Regions from separate parts of the Homo sapiens genome. Here regions 1, 2, 4, 5, 6 and 7 are each linked to region 3. Evidence: promoter capture Hi-C in 16 types of primary human blood cells and fetal thymus (Javierre and others, 2016). All regions are on one chromosome and are shown on one strand. Each heading gives the region's core, a stretch centred on a gene start or on the middle of the fragment in contact. The rest is flanking DNA. Distances are from core to core; before and after follow the strand shown. Region 1 has its middle 9.1 kb from the start of GSX2. Region 2 has its middle 10 kb from the start of GSX2. Region 3 holds the start of FIP1L1 (factor interacting with PAPOLA and CPSF1). Region 4 has its middle 5.2 kb from the start of CHIC2. Region 5 overlaps CHIC2 (cysteine rich hydrophobic domain 2). Region 6 has its middle 42 kb from the start of GSX2. Region 7 overlaps PDGFRA (platelet derived growth factor receptor alpha).

Region 1 (3,241 bases), core at 682-3,181, 730 kb before region 3:
TGCTGTCATCAATGTCCTCACAGTTGGGAATAGGGAGAAGACAGACACTTAGAAGTTCCATGGAGAAAGAACTAGGTAGGACCCAATGGATAAAAAATACTGAATGAAGATTCTAATCCAACACAAGAAAGTTTCTAATGGTCAAAGCTGTCTGAAAATGAAATGGGTTAGAGGGTGGAGTTCCTCTCACAGGAGTTGTCCCAGCAAAAGTATGGTGACAGTTGAGCTGGCTGTTATAGAAGGGATTGACTTAAACATAACATGGCTGATCAGGAGCCAGGTAACCAATGTGAGCTAGGGTTTTTAAAGACACTTTTCAACAAAGCGACTATTTGCAGAGATGTGTGTAGGGCTAATGGAACTAACAAGAATTTTGATGCACCCAGGGGACTAGCAGAAACTAGAAGGCATTTCCACTTCATGCCTGAAGGCACAGGGGGAGTCTGATTAAAAGCCAGAGCCTAGGAAAATAGGCTCTCAAAGAGAAAAAGAATTTCTAGAGAAGCAGCAACTGCCAGAACTGGAACAATATAACATTCCCAGAAACAATATACCTGCAGTTCTCTATCCTTAGGTTGTTCGGTTATTTGCAGTGCCACTTATTCACCAAATGCAAATGGAAGCCAGAGGCAAGCGCCTGCCAGTGACGCAGTTGATAAAGGAACTAATACTGTCCACAAAGGTCAGTGTCCGAGGGCACCCAGCAGGGCAGAAGAGGGCGAAATGGATCCAGATGGAAAACGCAGGATAATCAGCAGAGTTGTTTTTAAGGGCCCTTTATTTATTCAGAGGCAAAATTTTCTTTCCCTTTAGACTCTACAAATGAACAATCGGGAAGCGAACCTCAACTGTGGGGTGAGTGGCGCTTGGAGAAAATTGGAGCTGAGTGGATAATCCGGCTATGCCCTTCCCACGTCTCTTTCCCACGCAGCGTCACCGTCGTGCTCTCCAGTGCACACCACCAGCCATCCCTGCCCTGGCGCCCGGACGAAGCTCACGGGCTGGGGAGCCTCTTTCCTGCGCCGGTGATCAAGGGCGTCCCAGCCCACTGAGGGCCAGGAGGCGAGGCTTGGGCACACGTCCCTTCCCGCCCGGACGCTGGTGCCCGCGAGGTCCTCTTGGCCCTGCTGGGAGCGCAGGGGTCGCGGCAACCATTCAGAACCCCGGCTGCCAGACAAGCGAGGCTTTCCACGTGGGCAGAGGCGACGTTGTTCAGGTGGCAAGGATCCAAGGCTGAGCCTTCCTCCCTCTGCGTCCACCCACCGCCCCTCCCCACCCCCGACCTAGAAAAGGACACGCACACAAAAAACTTTCGCCACACTATTAATATATTCGCGTTTCCTCCCACTTTCCCAATGGGCTACCAGCTGCAGAACTCCTGAATAGAAAGCTTAATTGTGCTTTGTCATGCAGAGTACCTCGATTTTCTATAGAAGGTTACAAAGGGCCATTTGAAGTATTTCTTTCTCGCCTAATAGTGAACCATTTGCATACGGCACCTCTGCGCCTGCCAGACCCAGGTAGCTGTGCCGAAGCTCCGGGGGCCCCGGAGTAACAAAACCCAGGGCGGTTTCCAAAGGGCGCCCTACCCCGCCTCTCGCCCAGCGTTTGGACTTTTCTCTCCAATTCCCTCGGGTCACGGCCCGCCCTAGGCAGCTGATTTGGAGGACGCGAAATATGGCCTGCAGGCCGCGGGTGCCCAGCCGGTCCGTCTGATATCTTGGAGGCCTCGGGCCATCCAGGCCCTTCTAGCCTGGACCCGAGCCTTTTTTAGGCCGGGTCTACCGAACCCAGGTGGTGTTTTTCATCTACTATCTGCAGGTCCAGAGACCAGGCCTTTGCCCACGCGGGGTCCTCCACCCACTTGCTTCTCACGTAAGGCCCAAGTGAGGCGCTGAAGAACTGGAAGGTGATTATGATTTCGATACCACGCTGTTCGTTTCTCCTGGTTGATTGACAGGGCTGCGTTCAGAATATCTTTTCTTGTTGCTTGTTTTGACAGTTCAAATCCAGGTCTGTGTGACATATAAAGCTAATAAAATTCTAATTTCATTGTTAATCTTATTTCATTGCAGTATAGGTTTTTACCCTCACACCTGCATGGCAGGGTGTAATTCCATTAATAAAAAAAATCAACATATTCATTGCATGTCTTTTCCCTGATGATATATTGTGAGCAGTGTGAGTTGAGAAAGAGCCATTTATTCCCACCGTGAATGAGCCTGCATGGGGCGGGAGCTTCACCTGCCCCTCAGTCAATTAGGAATGTATCGAAAAGTCTAGCAGAAAACGAGTTAAATTAACCGTTGGCTAATTTCCTTATGTCCCTCCTACATAATCCCCCCTTTTCAGCTTGCCCCAGAAATTACCACATGTTGCAAGGTTCAAATAGTGCCTAATGAAACAGTGACTAAACGCTTCTCCCTCCGGCGCCACCGACGGGGGAGCCCTTTCGCCGGCCTTCAAAGCTTGCAGGATTTCGTGGTTCTGGTTCCCGTATCCAAGAAAAAAAAAAAGAAAAAAAGAGAAGAAAAGAAAGAGAAAGAAATTTTTGACAAGCAGAAAAAAGAAAATCTAAGCTGTCAATAACTCTCGATCCAGCGAGTGAAACTACATTAATGCCCACCCACTTCCTGCCACCGATGATGCAGTGGGATTCCGAGATGCCTGTGCCCGCAGTAGATACCCAAGTAGGAATGGCAGCTTTAGCATCCTCCTCTTTCCCCGGAGAGCTAGGAGGATTGAGCCATGGCCAGGGGAGACTGGATGGGGAAAACGGCCAGGAGAACAAAGGGTGGGGGTGGGGGCGGATATCAAGGCAGAAGGAGATGGAGACAAGACAGAGAAATGCAGACAGAGAAAGATCACTGGGGAAGCAGATGCAAAGGCAAAAAAAAAAAAAAAAAAAAAAAAAGACAGAGTGACAGCAAACACACCTCTAAAGTCTCAACTCCCTTATCCCAAGTTAAAACTACATGTATGGCTTAAGCAACTCATCAGCCTCTAGCCAAAGGCATTTTGAAGCCTTGACATTCAAAATCCTAATAATTAATCATTCTTATTAATTAATTAAGGAGGAAAGGAGGAAGGTGGCTGGCTGCTGCTTGACCCCAAACAATCTAAATTAGGGTTTGTGAAGGAAGTCTCCAAAAGCATGCACTCCCTCTCCTTCGTATTCTTTCTTTTTCACACTCTCAAAAATTTCCATTATAATCCTTCAAGGTCTGGGGCAGGCAGAGCT
Region 2 (3,064 bases), core at 533-3,032, 710 kb before region 3:
CAATAGTTTTTTGAGGAACAGGTGGTGTTAGGTTACATGGATAGGTTCTTTAGTGGTGATTTCTGAGATTTTGGTGCACCCATCACCCAAGCAGTGTACACTGTACCCAATGTGGTCTTTGATCCCTGTGCGCGGAGCTGTGTGAGTGAAGCGTGTTTGGGAGCATGGGTGTGTGTGAATATATGAGTGTATGAATGTGTGAATGTGAGGAATACGAGAAACTGGGGATGTGCACAGGGTGAGTGCGGTGTGAATGAGAGTGTGAGAACGTGCGTAGAGAGAGCAGGAGTGTGTCTGCGTGTGCCCGGCCCCTGGAGCCCCGCCTCCCCACTAGGCACGCCTTCCTCTTGGTGGGGTGCGCTACGGGCGCAGCCCAGTGCCTCTGTCCGCGCAGACCCGCTCTGCTGGTCCTGGAGCCTGGCGTGGGCTGAGGCTTGAAACTGGCGTCACTCAGCGAGCCAGAAAGGAGTGGGCGGGAGTGTCTGGGGGGTGCGCTGTCTCCCCATGTAGAAGCCTGGACACTCTAAGCAGGAGGGGCTCTGGCAGTATTGCCTCGAGGTCCTCCCTTTCACCTGCCCCCAGTATTGTTCACCCACCTGTGGATCATCTTTATGTTCATGTACTCAGGGAGCACCCATGGTGTGCCTATAGTATGCCAGGCTCTACTTGGGCTTGGGAAACCGTGAGAACAAGATAGCTTAGATCTCATTTGTTTTGGAACTTCCACTGGGCCTTTTATTAATGTGTAACCAGCTTGCAAAATGCCAGTCATACACAAGTTTTGTCGCCTCTGTCCTCAAGCAGAGGGGCATGGAGATTATGAGACAAACACTGATCGTAATAAGACGATGCATTGAAATCAGTGCAAATCCATTTCATCTCCAACCCAACCTCACCCTTTCACTGCACCACTGAGTTTGGGATTGGGTTTAGGAGGTCCTGGATGTGAATCCACCTTCTCTCTGACCATGGAAATAATAATGACCCTCTTCTCACAGGATGGTTGTGAGCATTAAGTGAGTTAAGCCTGACATCCCTTGGCACAACGCCTTGCACATACTTAGCACTCAGTATACAAACTATGACGACGTTGATGTGTGATGACGTTCCCTGAGTCTGATGGAATGTTGTGGGGAAAGAGGGAGGATGCGTTTGTGAGCTACAAAATTTAAGGGATTATTTCTGGATTTAGGTTAAATTAGGCCGGTTGTGGTGGCTCATGTCAATAATCCTAGCACTTTGGCAGGCCGAGGCAGGCAGATTACTTGAGGCTAGAAGTTCGAGACCAGCCTGGCCAATATAGTGAAACCCCATCTCTACTAAAAATACAAAAATTAGCCAGCGTGGTGGTACACGCCTGTAGCCGCAGCTACTTGGGAGGCTGAGACAGGAGAATTCTTGAACCTGAGAGGTGGAGGTTGCAGTGAGCCGAGATTGCACCACTGCACTTCAGCCTGGGCCATAGAGCAAAACTTCATCTAAAAAATATATATATATAAAATAAAATAATTAAATTGTGTATAATTTATACAGATTGAGTATCCTTCATTAGAAATGCTTGGGACCAGATGTGTCTGAAGATTTTGGATTTTTTATGGTTTTGGAACATTTGCATGTATATAATGAGATATCTTGGAAGAGGACCCTAGTCTAAACACAAAATTCATTTATATTTCACATACAGCTTATTCAGTGTACATAGCCTAAAAGTTTTTTATACAATATTTTAAATGATTTTTTGCATGAAGCAATATGTTTTAAGTACTTCTGTGTGGAATTTTCCACTTGTGATGTCATGTTGGTGCTCAATAAGTTGCAAATTTTCAATATTCAGCCTGTATTACATTCTCCTCTAGCATCAGGCTAGTGTTATAGTATCAGATACTCCATCTTCATCCTTTACTATGACTTCTTTTCTTCCACCAATGTTATCAAAAGTACTGTTACCAAGGGAAATAAAAATGCAGCAAGAACCTATAGGAGCTGAATATTCTTTTAGGCAGCTTTGGAAGCATTTTTAGTCCTGTTAAAATGGAAGGGAATATTTTCACAGTGGCACAAAATGAATGCTGTAATTTAACCTTGTGAGCAAAATTTCTGATTAAATACAACATAGGAAATATGTTTCCTGATTAGCCATGTACCTCCCTGGAACAAGGTATTGTATAAACAATTGCAAGACATACTTATTTTTATTTTAGAGAAGCTGACTTATTAAAAACATTTTTTGATATTTTGATCAAATATTTTGATCACTATATATGTGTGTGTATATATATATATATATATATATGGAATGTGGTGGTGGGATCATAGCTCACTGTAGCCTTGAACTCCTAGGCTCAAGCTGATCACAATATAATTTTGTTTAAAACCAAAATTTTTAAAGATTGGATTTCATTATTGAGATGTTTTCCCAAGGAAAAAAAATCAAAAAGAAGGCTTGAAAGATTGGAGAACCGATTGCAGATCTAGGTTCTTGAATTTAACAGCAAGAAAGGAATTCTGTCCTTATGTAACTGACCTATCTCATGTTATAAGTAGGGAGACTGAGGTCTCAAGGGATGAAATGGTCTTAGTGGTCAGTCTCTCCTACAGTCACCAAATAGGACCATATCAGCTTTGTTCCTCTACCTACAGTTTTATACACTTGCAGGAAGATGCCCTGGAAACTAGGAGAAGAGAAGGTACAGGAGTTCCAGGTTCCTGCATTACCCTCAGGTCTCTGTTGCTGGCACCTCCATCTTCTGGTGGCTCTTGCCCAAATCCTTTGAATCTTCTGTGACTCCTCTCTTGCTCTTTCTCTAATCCTGTACATTTAACCCATCATGAAGTCCTGAAGGCTTTAACTTCAAATGTAACTGGAAACTGACCACTTCTTAACACTCCAACTACTATCGCACGGGTCCAAGCCATCACCACTGCATAGGGATGACTGGGTTCATTCTTCCTATACTTGCCTCTACAATCTGTTCTCAACAGAGCAGCCAGAAGGATCGTTTTGAAATAGAAGTCTGATCAGGTCAGACCAAGAACAAAAGGCCCTCCATGATGCCACCATGGC
Region 3 (3,187 bases), core at 458-2,957:
TGTAAGAAAATAATTTTGACAACTGACAGAACCATTGTTTCACACAACCTGTGTAATAGGCATCAACAGAAAATTTCACTAACCTGGCATTTTCTTCTTCTGGCCTTTCAACTTCATTTTCATCTACCAAGTAAAATAAACAAATAAATAAATAAGCAAACAAAATAAAGAAACCACTCTTAAAGAAACTAGTATTATGAAAATCTGAAGTGATCATCACAAGCACTAACCTAGGTCCTTTGCCAAATCACTGTGCACATGCACGTCCCATGGGCCTATAAGCACATCCAAAGTTAGATCACCTTATAATTACTTAACAAGATACTTATTTTATGGAAAAAAAAATCAGACTTTACTGCTATAAAAATAAGCTTAAATTTAAGAGGTAATGAAGATTTCCAGATCTTTGTAAAAGAAATCCTACACATTCACATTTCAAAGAGTAGTAACTAATGCTAAATCTTGCCACCAAACGATTTTTTTTTACAAGTTTATCAAAGTCACATCATCAAGGACCTGCATGGTGCCCAAAGTGCACTTTTACTATTCTATTCTAAAGACAATCAAGAATATATGTTTTAGGCAAGGAACAAACATTAACTTTCAAATCTGGTGTTAACAAGCAAGAAGGGATTGTGACTTAAAGTTAAAAACCAGATGTCAAACAAGTACCCTTCTAGAGAGAAGTACATGATGCATTAAATTTATTTTGAGAAAAACAAATACATGAGATGACACTGAAAACTATAAGCCGAAGGGTCATGAGATACCTCCATGATGTAGGTTAAACGGTAGTCTCTTAAAAAAGAATAACTTCACCTTAATACAGGAGACATTCAGAGTTTTCTTTATGGGCCATCTTTCTCTCTCTCTCTCTTAATTAATTATTTTTAAAGCACGACTTTCAGACAAGGAGGTACCCTTGCAGGTGCATTCCATACAAACTGACCATCAAGAAACAAGACGTTAGTTGTACAGCATTAACTTTATTTAGCTATTATTACAGAATGACTGTTTCTGAAAGAAGGGACAGGAAGGGCACCCTAAGGCCACAGGGCAAAAACAGACACCAAAAACCACCACCTCAGAATCGACAGAAAAAAACAAGGGTAAAGAGCGCAGCAGCTAGGCGATCGAGACGCCTCGGGGAAAGCACAGCGAAGCCGGGGGCCAGGACCGGTCACAGCCCCCCAGCCCGGCCCGGCCGCCACAGGGGTGGATGCGCATGGTGGGCGTGGGCCAGGCGGGAGACCGCCGCGGGGACTGGGGGCACGCGCACGCCGCGCTCGGCCTAAGTCAGGCCGGACAGGACTCCCAACCAGAGGCCCGAAGCGGCGGCGCGAGAGGCCAGGGACGCCGGCCGTTTGAGGGCCAAGAGGGGAGGCCTGAGAGAACCCGAGAGACAGAGACAGGAAGTTTCGTACCGCCATAGAGCCACTCTTCCTCCTCATCCCCTCCGGTCCCGCCGCTCAGCTCCGACACTAGGCGCTCGACCTCGCCGGCCGACATGGCCGCCCCGAGCGCAACTTAAACGCGGCGATCAACAGCCCCCTCCAACCCCTTCCCCAGCCTCGCAGCCCCGAGGCGCGAGAAGGGCGCGAACCCGCCGACGAACGAACGAAGAAAGCTCGAGACTCCAATCCCAGGAAGGCGACGGCAGCGGCGGCAAAGATGAAGCCTCCAGCGCAGGTCCGTCTGCGCATGCGCAGGAGACCCAAGCGGCGCGGCGCGTATAGGTGGCTTCGCTTCCGCGGCGGCCACCTGGGCCTGGTTGCGCCTGCGCGCTGAGGTGGGCCCCGCCCCTCTAGGATCCCGGTTTGCTATTTTGCGTGGCTTCCTCCCGTGGCGTCCTGAGTCGGCCAGGGTTCCCCGCCCCCACCCTTCTTTTTAATAACCCGTATTGCCATTGCTGGCGAGTACACCATTGTTCCCTTCTACTCTTCGTGCTCTTTCTTCTCAACTTTTTATTTGTTTTTTAATCTTCAGAAAGGCCTTCTTTTATTCTTTAATCAGCCTTGATACAGAATCATTACCTGTCACTCCCTTTCCTCACTGAATAGAGAAGAAATCACAATCAGTACTATTTCTCAAAAAATTAATTTTCACAGCCAACAAAAGCAAAACTAATAGATGAAGAATGCACTCTCCTTGTTAAAAACCATAAATTACTGTCAAGGTCAAAGACCGCCTCATTCCCCTACCCTTCTCTCCGGAGGTAGCCCTTGCTACAGATGCATATCCTGTTTGGAGTTCATCATTCCGAAATTTCCTATACACTTACTTCATGTGTTGTGCTGTTTTGGTGGGAGAACCTGAGATTGACAAGTCTTAAATAGTACAGTACAGTATAGTATCATCCTTCGACTTCCTTTTTTTTCTTTTTTTTTAGCATCCGTGTCTTGGAGCTCTTTTTCATTTTAGTATGAATCAAACTATATCTATTTTAAGTGCTTCATAAAATTGCATAGTATGGCTATCACAGAGTGAATATGGCTATTTCTCCATTGATGTACACCCAGATTGCTTTTGACTTTACACTTTTAACTACAACAAAAAATGACAATGAAGATCCACACGGCTCCTTGCAGATTTGTCTGTTTCTCAAAGATAGATCATAAAGTATGTACAGTTTTTATTTTAATAGGTAAACCAAATGTTCAGGCCGCTTCTGAAAGCACATCTTCCAGTGAAAAGATGACATACCATGGTTCAAACTGGAGCTCTAGGTTTGTCTAGGTTTTTTGTTTGTTTGTTTATTTATTTGAGGCGGAGTCTCACTCTGTTGCCCAGCTGGAGTACAGTGGTGCGATCTCTGCTCACTGCAACCTCCACCTCCTGGGCTCAAGCGATTCTTCTGCCTCAGCCTCCCAAGTAGCTGGGATTACAGGCACGCACCACCATGCCCAGCCAATTTTTGTATTTATAGTAGAGAGGGGGTTTCACCATTTTGGCCAGGCTGGTTTTGAACTCCTGACCTCAGGTGATCTGCCCACCTTGGTGTCCCAAAGTGCTGGGCTTACAGGCATGAGCCACCACGCCCGGCCTGTTTTTTTGTTTTGTTTTGTTTTGTTTTGTTTTGTTTTGTTTTGTTTAAAAAACAGTCTTACTCTGTAACCCAGGCTGAAATGCAGTGGCAGGGTCACTGTTCACTGCAGTCTCTACCTCCCAGACTCAAACAGTCCTCCCA
Region 4 (3,072 bases), core at 536-3,035, 690 kb before region 3:
CCAAAATCCAAAATGCTTCAAAACCTGAAACTTTTTAAGTGCTGACATGACACTCAAAGGAAAAGCTCATTGGAACATTTCAAGCTTTGGATTTTCAGATTAAGGATGCTTAATCTATATACACATTTAGCTTTTTCTCCAAGCATAATTGGTTCTGCTCTCAGGAAGCTCCCAGCCTAGTTTAGATCATCTTCCTTCCCTCTCCTTTAGTGGCCACAGTTGTATGGAAGGCGAAGAGGATCTCTGTTGCTCTCTAAAGGCCTTTTGCATAGTTGTATTGCACATACATCAATCCTAAAGCATTGGAGCAGAAGTGCTATTTTCTATTACTTATACTGCGGGCACCAAAAACTCTAAGGTTGGGGCACAACCTGAACATTTTAGGTCAGATGCCCACTCTTGGAACTGGAGATATGGTCAGCTTAACCTAATCACATGTACTGAGGATGGAGGGGATATGATTTACTAAAAATCCTGAGAGTGTTGTTACAGAATGTGTGCCATTTACAGAATAACAGGCTGGGAAGTGGTGCAGGCAGGCTAGGCTGGACTACTGGTCTCCCACTTGGGGATTTAAAAATACACATCTGGCCAGGCCTGGTGGCTCACTCCTGTAACCTCAGCACTTTGGGAGGCCGAGTTGGGCAGATCACCTGAGGTCAGGAGTTCAAGACCAGCCTGGCCAACACGGTGAAACCCCGTCTCTACTAAAAATACAAAAATCAGCCAGGCGTGCTGGTGCATGCCTGTAATCCCAACTACTCAGGAGGCTGAGGCAGGAGAATCGCTTGAATCCGGGAGGTGGAGGTTGTAGTGAGCCGAGATTGTGCCATTGCACTCCAGCCTGGGCGACAAGAGTAAACTCCGTCTCAAAATAAATAAATAAATAAATACATAAATACATAAATAAATAAATAAATAAATAAATAATAAAAATGCACATCTGATAATGTCACTGCCTGGCTTCACATCCTCCGCTCCTTTACTTTTGGCATGCATTTAAGATTTCTTACAAAGGCCATCAAGTTTCCACCAGCCTCTTTGACCTCAACTCCAATCTGGCTCTGCCTTCCTCACTATGATCCACCCACACTGGCTTTGTTTTTTACCTCATTTGAGCTGTGCTCTTTTCTACTTCAAGGTCTTTAAACATGCTATTCCCACTGTCTGGAGCTTTCTCCTCTCTTCTCTCTACTTCCCTACCTCCATACCTTTGCTTAGCTCATCAGCTTACATGTCATTTTCCCAGAGAATAAATCCTGATTTCTTGGAGTGAGTTAGGTGGGTTTACTACTCCCATGGACCCCTGTGCTTCTCCACAGAACTGATCACAATTCTAATAGTTATTTATTTTTATAATTATCTGTCAGTCCTCCCCAGTGGACTTCATGCTCACAAAGGCAGGGGCTGTGTTTGGTTTACTGCTAAATCCCTAGTTCCTGGCACAGTATGTGACACATGAGAAGCATTCAATGCAAATTTGTTGAATGAATGAATGAGTGAACAAATGAGGGTTTATATGCTTTCTCAAGTCAGCTTGGGCTGTGTGATATCAGGAAATACATATTTGGTTTTTGACCCTGTTTCCTGGCATACAACACCTAAAATGCTTAGAAACTCCAAAGCAATGTCTTTCTGTATTCTAGTGAGTTGACTGTAGGCTGGCAGCTCCTAGTTAGCTTCAGGATGAGAGCTGATCACCAGAAGGGGCTGAAGATTAAGTCAATGGCCAGCGGTGTAATCAATCATGCCTACGTAATGAAGCCCCATAAAACCCTGAAGGAACAGGGTTCTGAGAGCTGCCAGACAGCTGAACACGTGGAGGATTACAGGGAGATGAACAAGAACTCATCCGTGTGCTGGGAAAGCAGAGCACCCCGACTCCGCGGGGACAGAAGCTCCTGCACCCAAGACCCTTCCAGACCTCACCCTCTGTGTCTCTTCATCTGGCTGTTTATTTGTAACCCTTAAAAGATCCTTCTTGGCTGGGTGTGGTGGCTCATGCCTATAATCTCAGTACTTTTTGGAGACCAAGGTGGGTAGATTACTTGAGCCCAGGAGTTGGAGACTAGCCTGGGCAACATGGTGAAACCCCATCTCTACAAAAAATATAAAAATTAGCTGGATGTGGTGGTGCATGCCTGCATTCCCAGCTACTCGGGAAGCTGAAGTGGGAGCATTGCTTGAGCCCAGGGAGGTTGAGGCTGCAGTGAATGGTGATTGTACCTCTGTCTCAATAAATAAATAATAAATAAATAACTATTGGACTGCAGTGAATGGTGATTGTACCTCTGTCTCAATAAATAAGTGAAATGAAATGAAATGAAATATCCTTCTTAATAAACTGGTAAACCTGTTTCCCCGAGTTCTGTGAGCCGCTCTAACAAATTAGTTGAACTTGACGAGGGTGTTGTGGGAACCCCAATTTATAGCTGGTCAGTCAGAAGTTCTGGAGACCTGGACTTGTGACTGGTGTTTGAAGTGGAGGGTGCAGTCTTGCGGACTGAGCCCTCAACCTGTGGGATTTGATGCTATCTCCAGGTAGAGAGTGCTGGAATTGAATTAGGACATACAGCTGGTGCCCACTGCAGAACTGATTGCTTGCTTGTTGGTGGAGAAAACCCCCCAACACATCTGGTCACAGAGAGTCTTCTGTGTTGGTTGTTGTTGTTAAGCAGGAGAATAGGAAAAAGCACATTGAGTGTATTTTCCACACAAATAGGCTGCCACACAAAATACCATAGACTGTGTCTTAGTCCCTTTGGGCTGCTATAATCAAATATCATAAACTATGTGACTTATAAACAAACATTTATTTCTCATAGCTTTGGAAACTTGGAAGTTCAAGATCAAACGGCTGGTAGCTTTGGTTTCTGGTGAGGGGCTTCGTCCTTGTATATGGTTGTCTTCTTGCTGTGTTCTAAGATAGTGGAAGGGGCAAACCAGCTCTCTGGGGCCTCTTTTATGAGGGCACTAATCCCATTCATGAGGGCTCAGCCTTCATAACCTAATCACCTCCCAAAGGCCCTAATATTTCCTAATACCATCACCTTGAGGGCTAGGATATCAACA
Region 5 (3,285 bases), core at 484-2,983, 670 kb before region 3:
AGTTGGAGTCCCCCCTTCAAAACTTTACAGTGTATTACATGAACTTTCAAAATTATCTCAAATTATATAAAAGTAAAATTGGTCTCGTGTGTGATTTCTTAAGGAAACAAAGGAAGCTGTAAAAGCCATAAAAGCCTGCACTGAAGTGTTGCATGGAATGTGCTCAGTAGTTGTGATTTGAATGAATTCTCTGTTCTCCAAGTACTGGTAGACTTCTGATAGATAAAAGCAAGATAGGTTGTTTTTATTATGTCTTTTATCTTCTTGTTATATTTACCATTCTTTGAAAATAGTTTAAATCTTTTATCAATTCTAAAGCCATGGAATATTTTAACCATGATTCAAGAAAAGGTCTTTTAGGTAATAGGAATAGATATAGGTATAGTACACGTCTACATTTTCTTTCATACCATCTAATGCACTGACAAATAGGTGTTCAATGGAACCTAAGACGGTTCTTGGTAGCACTTTGTCCATTCCTACTTTTTTATTTTTTCTCTCCCTTTTTCCTTATTCTTCCCCTCCTCACTCTTTTTCCTGCATTTTTCCTTCTCATCTTATTGCTTGTGTAGGACACCTGCTAAAATTCACAGGTATTGTTTGTTTCCACCAATAACATTAAAAGCTGGAAAAAATCGCTATCCCACCCATTAAAATAATATGCTTTGTAGTTACTTTTTAAGATATAAAGTTGGTAGCTCAAATTAAATGAACCATTTATATTTTTGTTTACATACTGCTGGTTAATTAACATTCAGCCCCTTATCATTATGCAAAAGTTTCCATTTAACTGCTAAAATAATTGTTACATTTCATAAATTGCTTGTTACAGTTATTTTATCTCAAACTTCCATTTTATGTCTAAAACTTCCTCCATATGTGAAAATGCTTTCTATTGACTTGACCTTTAAATTAAATGGTCTACATTTTTGGCAACAATAACATGTAATAACATATTCTTCTTATTTTTTAAAATAGATTTGGACTGAGCAACAAATTTGAATCTGAATTCCCTTCTTCATTAACTGGAAAAGTGAGTGTCTCATTTATGTACTATTTGTATGCCTCAAAATGAAAGTTTTTTTCTGAGAAAATTAGAAAAAAGTATGCTCATCAGTCATGTTTTTTGACATTAATATTGCATTGTTATTATTTCTTAAAATTTTTCTTTAGGTAGCTCCTGAAGAATTTAAAGCCAGCATCAACAGAGTTAACAGTTGTCTTAAGAAGAACCTTCCTGTTAATGTACGTTGGCTACTTTGTGGCTGCCTTTGTTGCTGCTGCACATTAGGTTGCAGTATGTGGCCAGTTATTTGCCTCAGTAAAAGAGTAAGTTGAATTATATATTTTAATTTAAATTTAGAAGTGGACAAGCAAGTCTTGCATTTATCTAGTTTTTATTTTTTGTATTGAATGAATCACACTATCCTGAATAAAATATGAAAATAATCTGATCCAGGAGAGGAGTGAGTCAGTAAAGTTACTATATATCCAAGTGCTGTTATTAAATAGCCATCTAAAAATTATATTTATAATTTTAGAAGCAAGGAGTAGTGTATGGCATTGTCTGTATCTGTACATTGACAGTGGTGTGGTATAGTGATCAAGGATGCTGGCTTCAGCTCTACCACTTTTCTCTGTGACCTTAGGCACGTTTCCTAACCTCTTTAAACCCTACTTGACACAACTGTAAAATGTTCACCTACTACTTGAATATAAAGGTAAAATGAAAATGTTTGGAAAACTCTTAGCTGAATATCTCAAAGGAAGTGGTTAATAAGTATTAATTAATAGTATTCTTACTGACTGTAAGATGGTACCCATACAAGAAATAAAATGGTTACAATGGTTGTTTCTTGTTGGTAAGATTATGGGACATTCTTTTCTGCTTTTTATATTTTACAAGTTTCCTGTAGTGAGCACAAAGTGATTCTGTAATCAGAAAAAATAATTTCAAAGACTCATTATTTTGACTGCTTATAATAAAAAATTCTGGCCAGGCACAGTGGCTCATGCCTGCAATTTTAACACTTTGGGAGGCCAAGGCGGGCGGATCACTTGAGGTCAGAAGTTCAAGACCAGTCTGGCGTACATGGTAAAACCCTGTCTCTACTAAAAATACAAAAAATTAGCCAGGCGTGGTGGCGGGTGCCTGTAATCCCAGTTAGTCAGGAGGCTGAGGCAGGAGAATCGCTTGAACCTGGAGGGCGAAGGTTGCAGTGAGCTGAGATCGTGCCATTGCACTCCAGCCTGGGCAACAATAGTGAAACTCTGTCTCAACAAACAAATAAACAAAATTTTAAGATGTTGGTAGAGATATGACAAATTATTATAGATTGAATGTATTATATTCTTGTTAAAATTTTCAAAAATTGTATTTATATGTATAAAAATGATACTTTAAAAAAATTTTTTTAAATAAATAAATTTTATTTTTTAAAAATGTATTTAAAAAAATAGAGACAGGGTTTCTTTTTTTTAATTATTATACGTTAAATTCTAGGGTACATGTGCACAACGTGCAGGTTAGTTACATATGTATACATGTGCCATGTTGGTGTGCTGCACCCATTAACTCGTCATTTAACATTAGGTATATCTCCTAATGCTATCCCTCCCCCCTCCCCCCACCCCACAACAGTCCCCGGTGTGTGGTGTTCCCCTTCCTGTGTCCATGTGTTCTCATTGTTCAATTCCCACCTATGAGTGAGAATATGCGGTGTTTGGTTTTTTGTCCTTGCGATAGTTTGCTGAGAATGATGGTTTCCAGCTTCATCCATGTCCTTACAAAGGACATGAACTCATCCTTTTTTATGGCTGCATAGTATTCCATGGTGTATATGTGCCACATTTTCTTAATCCAGTCTACCATTGTTGGACATTTGGGTTGGTTCCAAGTCTTTGCTATTGTGAATAGTGCTGCAATAACCATACGTGTGCATGTGTCTTTATAGCAGCATGATTTATAATCCTTTGGGTATATACCCAGTAATGGGATTGCTGGGTCAAATGGTATTTCAAGTTCTAGATCCCTGAGGAATCGCCACACTGACTTCCACAATGGTTGAACTGGTTTATAGTCCCACCAACAGTGTAAAAGTGTTCCTATTTCTCCACATCCTCTCCAGCACCTGTTGTTTCCTGACTTTTTAATGATCGCCATTCTAACTGGTGTGAGATGGTATCTCTTTGTGGTTTTGATTTGCATTTCTCTGATGGCCAGTGATGATGAGCATTTTTTCATGTGTTTTTTGGCTGCATAAATGTCTTCTTTTGAGAAGTGTC
Region 6 (3,260 bases), core at 558-3,057, 760 kb before region 3:
AGTGCTGGGATTATAGACGTCAGCCACCACACCCCACCTGCTCTGATATTTATTATTTCTTTTCTTCTGCTAATTTTGAGTTTGGTTTGCTCTTGCTTTTGTAGTTCTTTAACACGTACCATTAGGTTATTTATGATTATTAGATTAGTTTTTCTTCTTTTTAAATGTAGATACCTATAATTATAAAATTCCCTCTTAGTACTGCTTTTGCTGTATTCCATAGGTTTTGGTATGTTCTGTTTCCATTATCATTTGTTTCAACAAATTTTTCAATTTCCCTCTTAATTTCTTCATTGACCCACTGGTCATTCAGAAGCATATTGTTTAATTGCTGTGTATTTTTATAGCTTCCAAATCTCTTGTTTTGTTACATTGTGGTCAGAGAAGATGCCTGATGTTATTTCAATTTTTTTGAATTTTTTAAAGCCTTGTTTTGTGATTTAACATATGGTCTATTCTTGAGAATAATCCATGTGCTGAGGAGAAGAATGTGTATTCTGCAGCCTTCAGATGAAATGCTCTGTAAATATCTATTAGGTCCATTTGTTCTATAGTGCAGTTTAAGCCTGATGTTTCCTTGTTGATTTTCTGTCTAGAAGATCTGTCCATTGGTGAAAGTGGGATGTTAAAATCTCCAGCTATTATTGTACTGAGGGCTGTCTTTTTACCTTAAATAATATTTGCTGCTTCATATATCTGGATGCTCCAGTGTTGGGTGCATATATAATTGTTATATCTTCTTGCTAAACTGACTCCTTGATTATTATATAATGACCTTCTTTGTTTCTGCCGCCTATAGAGACAAAGAAGGTTATTATATAATGATGAAAGAGTCCAGTTTTTTGTTGTTGTTGTCATTTTTTGAGATGAAGTCTCACTCTTTCACCCAGGCTGGAGTGCAGTGGCACAATCTTGGCTCACTGCAATCTCTGCCTCTAGGTTCAAGTGATTCCCCTGCCTCAGCCTCCCGAGTAGCTGGGACTACAGGTGCCCACTACCACACTTGGCTAATTTTTGTATTTTTAGTAGAGACAGGGTTTTCACCATGTTGGCCAGGCTGGTCTCCAACTCCTCATATCAAGCGATCCGTCCGTCTCAGCCCCCCAAAGTGCTGGGATTACAGGCGTGAGCCACTGTGCCTGGCCCATTGTATGTTTTTCAATTTGGGGTTACCATGAGGCTTGCAACTACTGTTTCATAACCCATTGTTTCAAACTGATGACAACTTAACACTGATTGCATAAACAAACAAATAAGCAAAAAGAAAACTAATAAAAACTCTTAACTTCATCCTCCTGCTTTTTAACTTTTTGTTGTTTCTCTTCATGTCTTATTGTACTGTCTGTCATGACAAATTGCTGTAGTTATTATTTTTGATTAGTTCATTGCTTAGTCTTTCTGCTTAAGAGTATTTTGAACACCGTAATTAAAGTGTTATAATATTCTATGTCTTTCTGTGTGCTATTACCAGTGAGTTTTGTAGCTTCACGTGACTTCCTATTGCTCATCAATGTCCTTTTCTTTCAGATGTAAGAACTTTCTTTAGCATTTCTTTTTTTTTTTTTGAGATGGAGTCTCACTCTTTTGCCCAGGCTGGAGTGCAGTAGCATGATCTCAGCTCACTGCAACCTCTGCCTCCCATGTTCAAGCAATTATAGTGCCTCAGCCTCCCAAGTAGTTGGGTCTACAGGCATGCGCCACCACACCCAGCTAATTTTTGTATTTTTAGTAGAGACACCTGACCATGTTGGTCAGGCTGGTCTGGAACTCCTGGCCTCAAGCAATCCACCCGCCTCAGCCTCACAAACTGCTGGGATTACACGCATGAGCCACCACGCTTGGCCTCCTTTAGCATTTCTTATAGGACAGGTCTAGTGTTGATGAAAATCCCTTAGCTTTTGTTTGTCTGGGAAGGTCTTTATTTCCCCTTCATGCTTAAAAGATATATTTTGCTGAATATACTATTCTAGGGTTAAAGTTTTTTTTTTCCCTTCAGCATTTAAAATATGTCATGCTAGTTTCTCCTGGCCTATAAGGTTTCCACTGAAAAGTCTGAGGCCAGATGTATTGGAGCTCTATTATATTTTATTTGTTTCTTTTCTGTTGCTGTTTTTAAGATCCTTTCTTTATCTTTGACCTTTGGGAGTTTGATTATTAAATGCCTTGAGGTTGTCTTTTTTGGATTAAATCTGCCTGATGTTCTATAACTTTCTTGTACTTGAATATTGATATCTTTCTCTGGGTTTGGGAAGTTCTTTGTTATTATCCCTTTCAATAAACTTTCTATCCCCATCTCTTCCTCAACCTCCTCTTTTTGGCCAATAGTGCTTAGATTTGCCCTTTTAAGGCTATTTTCTATATCTTGTAGACATGCTTCATTGTTTTTTACTCTTTCTTTTTGTCTCCTCTGACTGTGGATTTTCAAATAGCCTGTCTTCAAGCTCATTAATTCTTTCTTCTGCTTGATCACGTCTGTTATTAAGAGACCCAGATGCATTCTTCAGCATGGCAGTTGTACTTTTCAGCACTAGAATTTCATTTCTTTTTAATAACTTCAATCTCTTTGTTAAATTTGTCTGATAGAATTCTGAATTCCTGGCCAGGCGCAGTGGCTCACACCTGTAATCGCAGCACTTTGGGAGGCTGATCACTTGAGGTCAGGAGTTCAAGACCAGCCTAGCCAAAATGGCAAAACTCCATGTCTACTAAAAACATAAAAATTAGTTGGGTGTGGTGGCACATACCTGTAATTCCAGCTACTTAGGAGGCTGAGGTGGGAAGATCACTTGAACCCAGGAGGCAGAGGTTGCAGTGAGCCAAGATCGTACCACTACACTCCAGCCTGGGCGTTCATCTCAAGAAAAAAAAAAAAGAATTCTGAATTTCTGTTTTGTGTTTCTTGGATTTCTTTGAGTTTCCTCGACACAGCTACTTTGAATTCTCTGTCTGAAAGGTCACATATCTGTTTCTCCAGGATTGGTCCCTGGTTCCTTATTTATTTTGTTTGGTGAGGTCATTTTCTCCTGGATGGTCTTGATGCTTGTAGATGTTCGTTAATGTCTGGGCATTGAAGAGTTAGGCGCTTATTGTAGTCTTCACAGTCTGGGCTTATTTGTGCCCATCCTCCTTGGAAAGGCTTTCCGGGTATTTTGAAGGAACTTGGGCCCCAAGTCCAATAATATTATGTTTCTTGCAGACTCATAGAGGTGCTGCTCTGGTAGTCTTGGATAAGATCTGGAAGAATTCTCTAGATTACCAGG
Region 7 (3,057 bases), core at 256-2,755, 900 kb before region 3:
ATCCCCAGGAAGGAGCACTTACGTTTTAGCATCTTCACTGCAACTTTCATGACAGGTTGGGACCGGCTTAATCCATAGGCTGTTCCTTCAACCACCTTCCCAAACGCTCCAGACCCCAAGACCCGACCTGTGGGCAGGCAGAATCATTAACACCCAAAAACTCCAGACGCCTCCTCAGCTTTCTGCACCGTAGCCAGCTCTCTGCGGGCGGACAGCTGGGCGAGTGTCTTTCCTGTTTGGAGTAATCATAATGACTCCTCCAAGTCATCGTGTCAAAAAAGGAATTGAGCCCACAGGGAAGGAAATTAGCATAATTGCTTTTGTCGAATAACACTTGCAAGGGAAAGAAAACACAGACGGGAGAAAGGAGGGTGCAGCCCTCCCTGGTGTGAGCGCGCTGTCTACCAGCTCCGTGCTGGGCCAGCCCCTGGGATCCTCTTGCCTTCGGGGCTCTCACCCACACCTCCTGGCTCTCTCCCCTTCTGTTTTCCATATGCAAACAGGGGCATCTTTTGTCTTAGTAAATTACTAGCCACTGGAAATACTTCAGTATTCAAAATATCACTGATTCTAAGGAGTGACTAAATAAAAACTTCAGGCTGGGCTCACTGCTCCCTATTTGTTAGGAAAGCCACTCTACCAAGAGCTAAACATGCCCGAGAGCACAGCAATTAGCTTCATGTTGGGAGGAGACATACGTAAAGACACTGAAGCTGTTGTCCCACCCTGAAAGAGCTCACCCTGAGAGAAACATTTCCCGGGGTGTCAGTCTCACCACGGATAGCCAAGCCAGGAAAAGACTTGGCTCATAAAAGACACTAACAGCCAACACTGCCTCTTACTGCACGTCTGTGTTACTGAAAATCGTACCTGGAAAGGTATTGCTTCACCAGCAATGCCTCTTGGTATAATGGGAATTATGCCCTTTTCCCCATATTTTACTACTTTTTAACTCCCTAAGCTCCTCATCCCTTGTTGGGAAATAGGCAGGAAAATAAAGAAAGCTTAGATATAAATATTTGAAATTGGGGGGCAGCTCTTATAACCGCCCCATGGATTCTCCTTGTCCGCTGCCTAGACAGAGCCGATTTACCAAGACAGGGGAATTGCAATAGAAAAAGGGTTTAATTCACACAGAGCCAGCTGTACGGGAGACCTATTCTACTATTACTACTATTACTCGAATCAGTGTCTCTGAAACTGGGGGAATTTCTACTATTCTGCTATTACTCAAATCAGTGTCTCTGAAACTGGGGGAATGGGGTTTTTAAGGATGATTTGGTGGGTAGGGGGTGAAAAGGGGAGTGCTGATTGGTTGGGTCAAAGATGAAATTATAGGGAGCTGATGCTGTCCTCTTGCACTGAGTCAGTTCCTAGGTAGGGGCCCCAAGATCAGATGAGCCAGTTTATTGACCTGGGTGGTGTCAGCTGGTGCATCGAAATACAGGGTCTCCAAAATATCTCAAGCACTGACCTCAGGTTTTACAACAGTGACCCCTAAACCATACTTTCTAATCTTGTAGCTAATTCGTTAGTCCCGCAAAGGCAGTCTAGTTCCCAGGGAAAAAGAGGGTTTGTTTTGGCAAAGGGCTATTATTGTCTTTTTTTCAAAGTCAAACTATAAACTAAGTTCCTCTCAAAGTTAGTTCGGCCTATGCCCAGGAAGGAACAAGGACAACTTGGAGGCTAAAGCAAAATGGAGTTGGTTAGGTCATATCTCATTCACTGTCATAATTTCCTCAGTTACAATTTTTGCAAAGGTGATTTCACTCTGGTGCCTTGCTTGATTTCAGTTTACCTAACTCTCTAAGAAGACTTAAACTCTTCTGTATTTTGCAATGAGACCGGTGGATAATTAAAACCTGCATTTGGCATTCTTTAACATATATACTGTTAGATCATTCATCATAACACAACCTCTACCTCTACTTTCATTTGCCTTTGTCTTGCTTTCATTCATTAGGAATGTGATTTAAAAAAGAAATACTCCCTTGGACTAAAGCTTCATATACTTGGTCTCAGCCCAGGATTGAAATACTTGAAATGCTTGTGATAAGTTGGCTTGCTTATTTTTACATATTTTGCCTCAAAATGTACCTATATTTTTATATTCCATATTCCAAATATGTAAAAAGGAGTATCTAATGCATCTTCAGAATGTACTGAATCAAAATACATTTTGTGGTTGTCCTCATTCATTTCTCATCTGCTCATTTTTAGTCACAGAAATTCATTTTCAATTTGTGTCATTTCTAAAGAAAAGCAATTTTGGTGGGTATCTTTGCCAGCCCTCTTCATATTCTCTTCTCCCTTTGTAAAATTTTCCTTAACTATAATTTGTTATGGAAAGAGATTTAAAAAAATCATTGCAATGATCCAATTAACTTACTGTCAAGACAGAAATGTATTTCTGAAAGCAAATTTCCATTGCCTAGTTCTTACTAAGCACAAGCTCAGATCTCTATTCTGCCAAGGCCTATAAATTGTAAAGTTGTGTGCAAGGGAAAAGGGAGTCTTGGGAGGTTACCCCATGGAACTTACCAAGCACTAGTCCATCTCTTGGAAACTCCCATCTTGAGTCATAAGGCAGCTGCATCGGGTCCACATAAATATATTCATGTCCATCTGGGCTGATTGATTCAATGACCCTCCAGCGAATTTCATACCTCGGTTTCTATAAATGACCAGGACAGGTAACTGGTGAATTACCAAAGTCCCAGTGCACCAGAGCTTCACTGAAGCAGCACAGTGACTGGACACAGTAGAGTCCAACAACGTTCACTCCACATGTAATTGCTGAGCTCCTTCTCTGTGCCAAGCACTGAACTAGGTTGCTATGCTTGTTCTCATTGGCTTCAAAGATCTTTAGTTTTATGAGAAAATATCTACCTGTTTCCAAATGACAACCAGGACAATAAGTGAGATGATCACAATCACCAACAGCACCAGGACTGCAGCAGCCACCGTGAGTTCAGAACGCAGGGCTACGTGACAAGAGAGAGAGGCACAATGAAAAGTTTCCTGGCAGACATGCACAGGGGCAGCAAGGTAGTGTGG

What was found. The method cuts DNA at HindIII sites, captures the fragments that hold promoters and counts their contacts. A CHiCAGO score of 5 or more calls a contact.
Region 1: a fragment that was not itself captured here is called in contact with the fragment with the promoter of FIP1L1 in region 3 in 5 of 17 cell types (total CD8 T cells, naive CD4 T cells, total B cells and 2 more); the score reaches 7.1 in total CD8 T cells.
Region 2: a fragment that was not itself captured here is called in contact with the fragment with the promoter of FIP1L1 in region 3 in 3 of 17 cell types (total CD8 T cells, non-activated CD4 T cells and total CD4 T cells); the score reaches 7.1 in total CD8 T cells.
Region 4: a fragment that was not itself captured here is called in contact with the fragment with the promoter of FIP1L1 in region 3 in 11 of 17 cell types (non-activated CD4 T cells, total CD8 T cells, naive CD4 T cells and 8 more); the score reaches 15.7 in non-activated CD4 T cells.
Region 5: a fragment that was not itself captured here is called in contact with the fragment with the promoter of FIP1L1 in region 3 in 1 of 17 cell types (fetal thymus); the score reaches 5.6 in fetal thymus.
Region 6: a fragment that was not itself captured here is called in contact with the fragment with the promoter of FIP1L1 in region 3 in 1 of 17 cell types (fetal thymus); the score reaches 7.1 in fetal thymus.
Region 7: a contact is called between a fragment that was not itself captured here and the fragment with the promoter of FIP1L1 in region 3, in 1 of 17 cell types (M1 macrophages). The highest score is 6.2, in M1 macrophages.

What each region holds. Positions count from the first base shown.
Region 1 is chr4:54,107,691-54,110,931 of GRCh38, reverse strand. No RefSeq gene overlaps it. Among named protein-coding and RNA genes, the nearest start is that of GSX2, 9.1 kb to the right of the region's middle. The HindIII fragment of the contact is 1,078 bases long and covers 1,393-2,470 here.
Region 2 is chr4:54,088,622-54,091,685 of GRCh38, reverse strand. It overlaps a transcript of CHIC2 not described here. Among named protein-coding and RNA genes, the nearest start is that of GSX2, 10 kb to the left of the region's middle. RefSeq lists a silencer at 249-348. The HindIII fragment of the contact is 7,418 bases long and covers 1-3,064 here.
Region 3 is chr4:53,376,161-53,379,347 of GRCh38, reverse strand. It overlaps FIP1L1 (factor interacting with PAPOLA and CPSF1), which reads right to left and starts at 1,707. Exons shown (of 18, transcript NM_030917.4): 1 at 1,425-1,707; 2 at 231-275; 3 at 84-123. The coding sequence starts at 1,509. It overlaps LOC105377654 (a long non-coding RNA gene), which reads left to right and starts at 1,608. Exons shown (of 3, transcript XR_007058118.1): 1 at 1,608-1,689. RefSeq lists a silencer at 1,130-1,219 and enhancers at 892-1,440, 1,380-1,499, 1,550-1,639, 1,441-1,989. The HindIII fragment of the contact is 4,469 bases long and covers 374-3,187 here.
Region 4 is chr4:54,068,240-54,071,311 of GRCh38, reverse strand. It overlaps a transcript of CHIC2 not described here. Among named protein-coding and RNA genes, the nearest start is that of CHIC2, 5.2 kb to the right of the region's middle. The HindIII fragment of the contact is 3,398 bases long and covers 87-3,072 here.
Region 5 is chr4:54,046,999-54,050,283 of GRCh38, reverse strand. It overlaps CHIC2 (cysteine rich hydrophobic domain 2), which reads left to right. Exons shown (of 6, transcript NM_012110.4): 2 at 979-1,033; 3 at 1,174-1,329. Among named protein-coding and RNA genes, the nearest start is that of CHIC2, 16 kb to the left of the region's middle. The HindIII fragment of the contact is 6,225 bases long and covers 1-3,285 here.
Region 6 is chr4:54,140,626-54,143,885 of GRCh38, reverse strand. No RefSeq gene overlaps it. Among named protein-coding and RNA genes, the nearest start is that of GSX2, 42 kb to the right of the region's middle. RefSeq lists a silencer at 1,776-1,994. The HindIII fragment of the contact is 7,651 bases long and covers 1-3,260 here.
Region 7 is chr4:54,274,458-54,277,514 of GRCh38, reverse strand. PDGFRA (platelet derived growth factor receptor alpha) reads right to left here. Exons shown (of 23, transcript NM_006206.6): 11 at 2,890-2,984; 12 at 2,542-2,674; 13 at 23-127. Among named protein-coding and RNA genes, the nearest start is that of PDGFRA, 47 kb to the right of the region's middle. The HindIII fragment of the contact is 998 bases long and covers 1,007-2,004 here.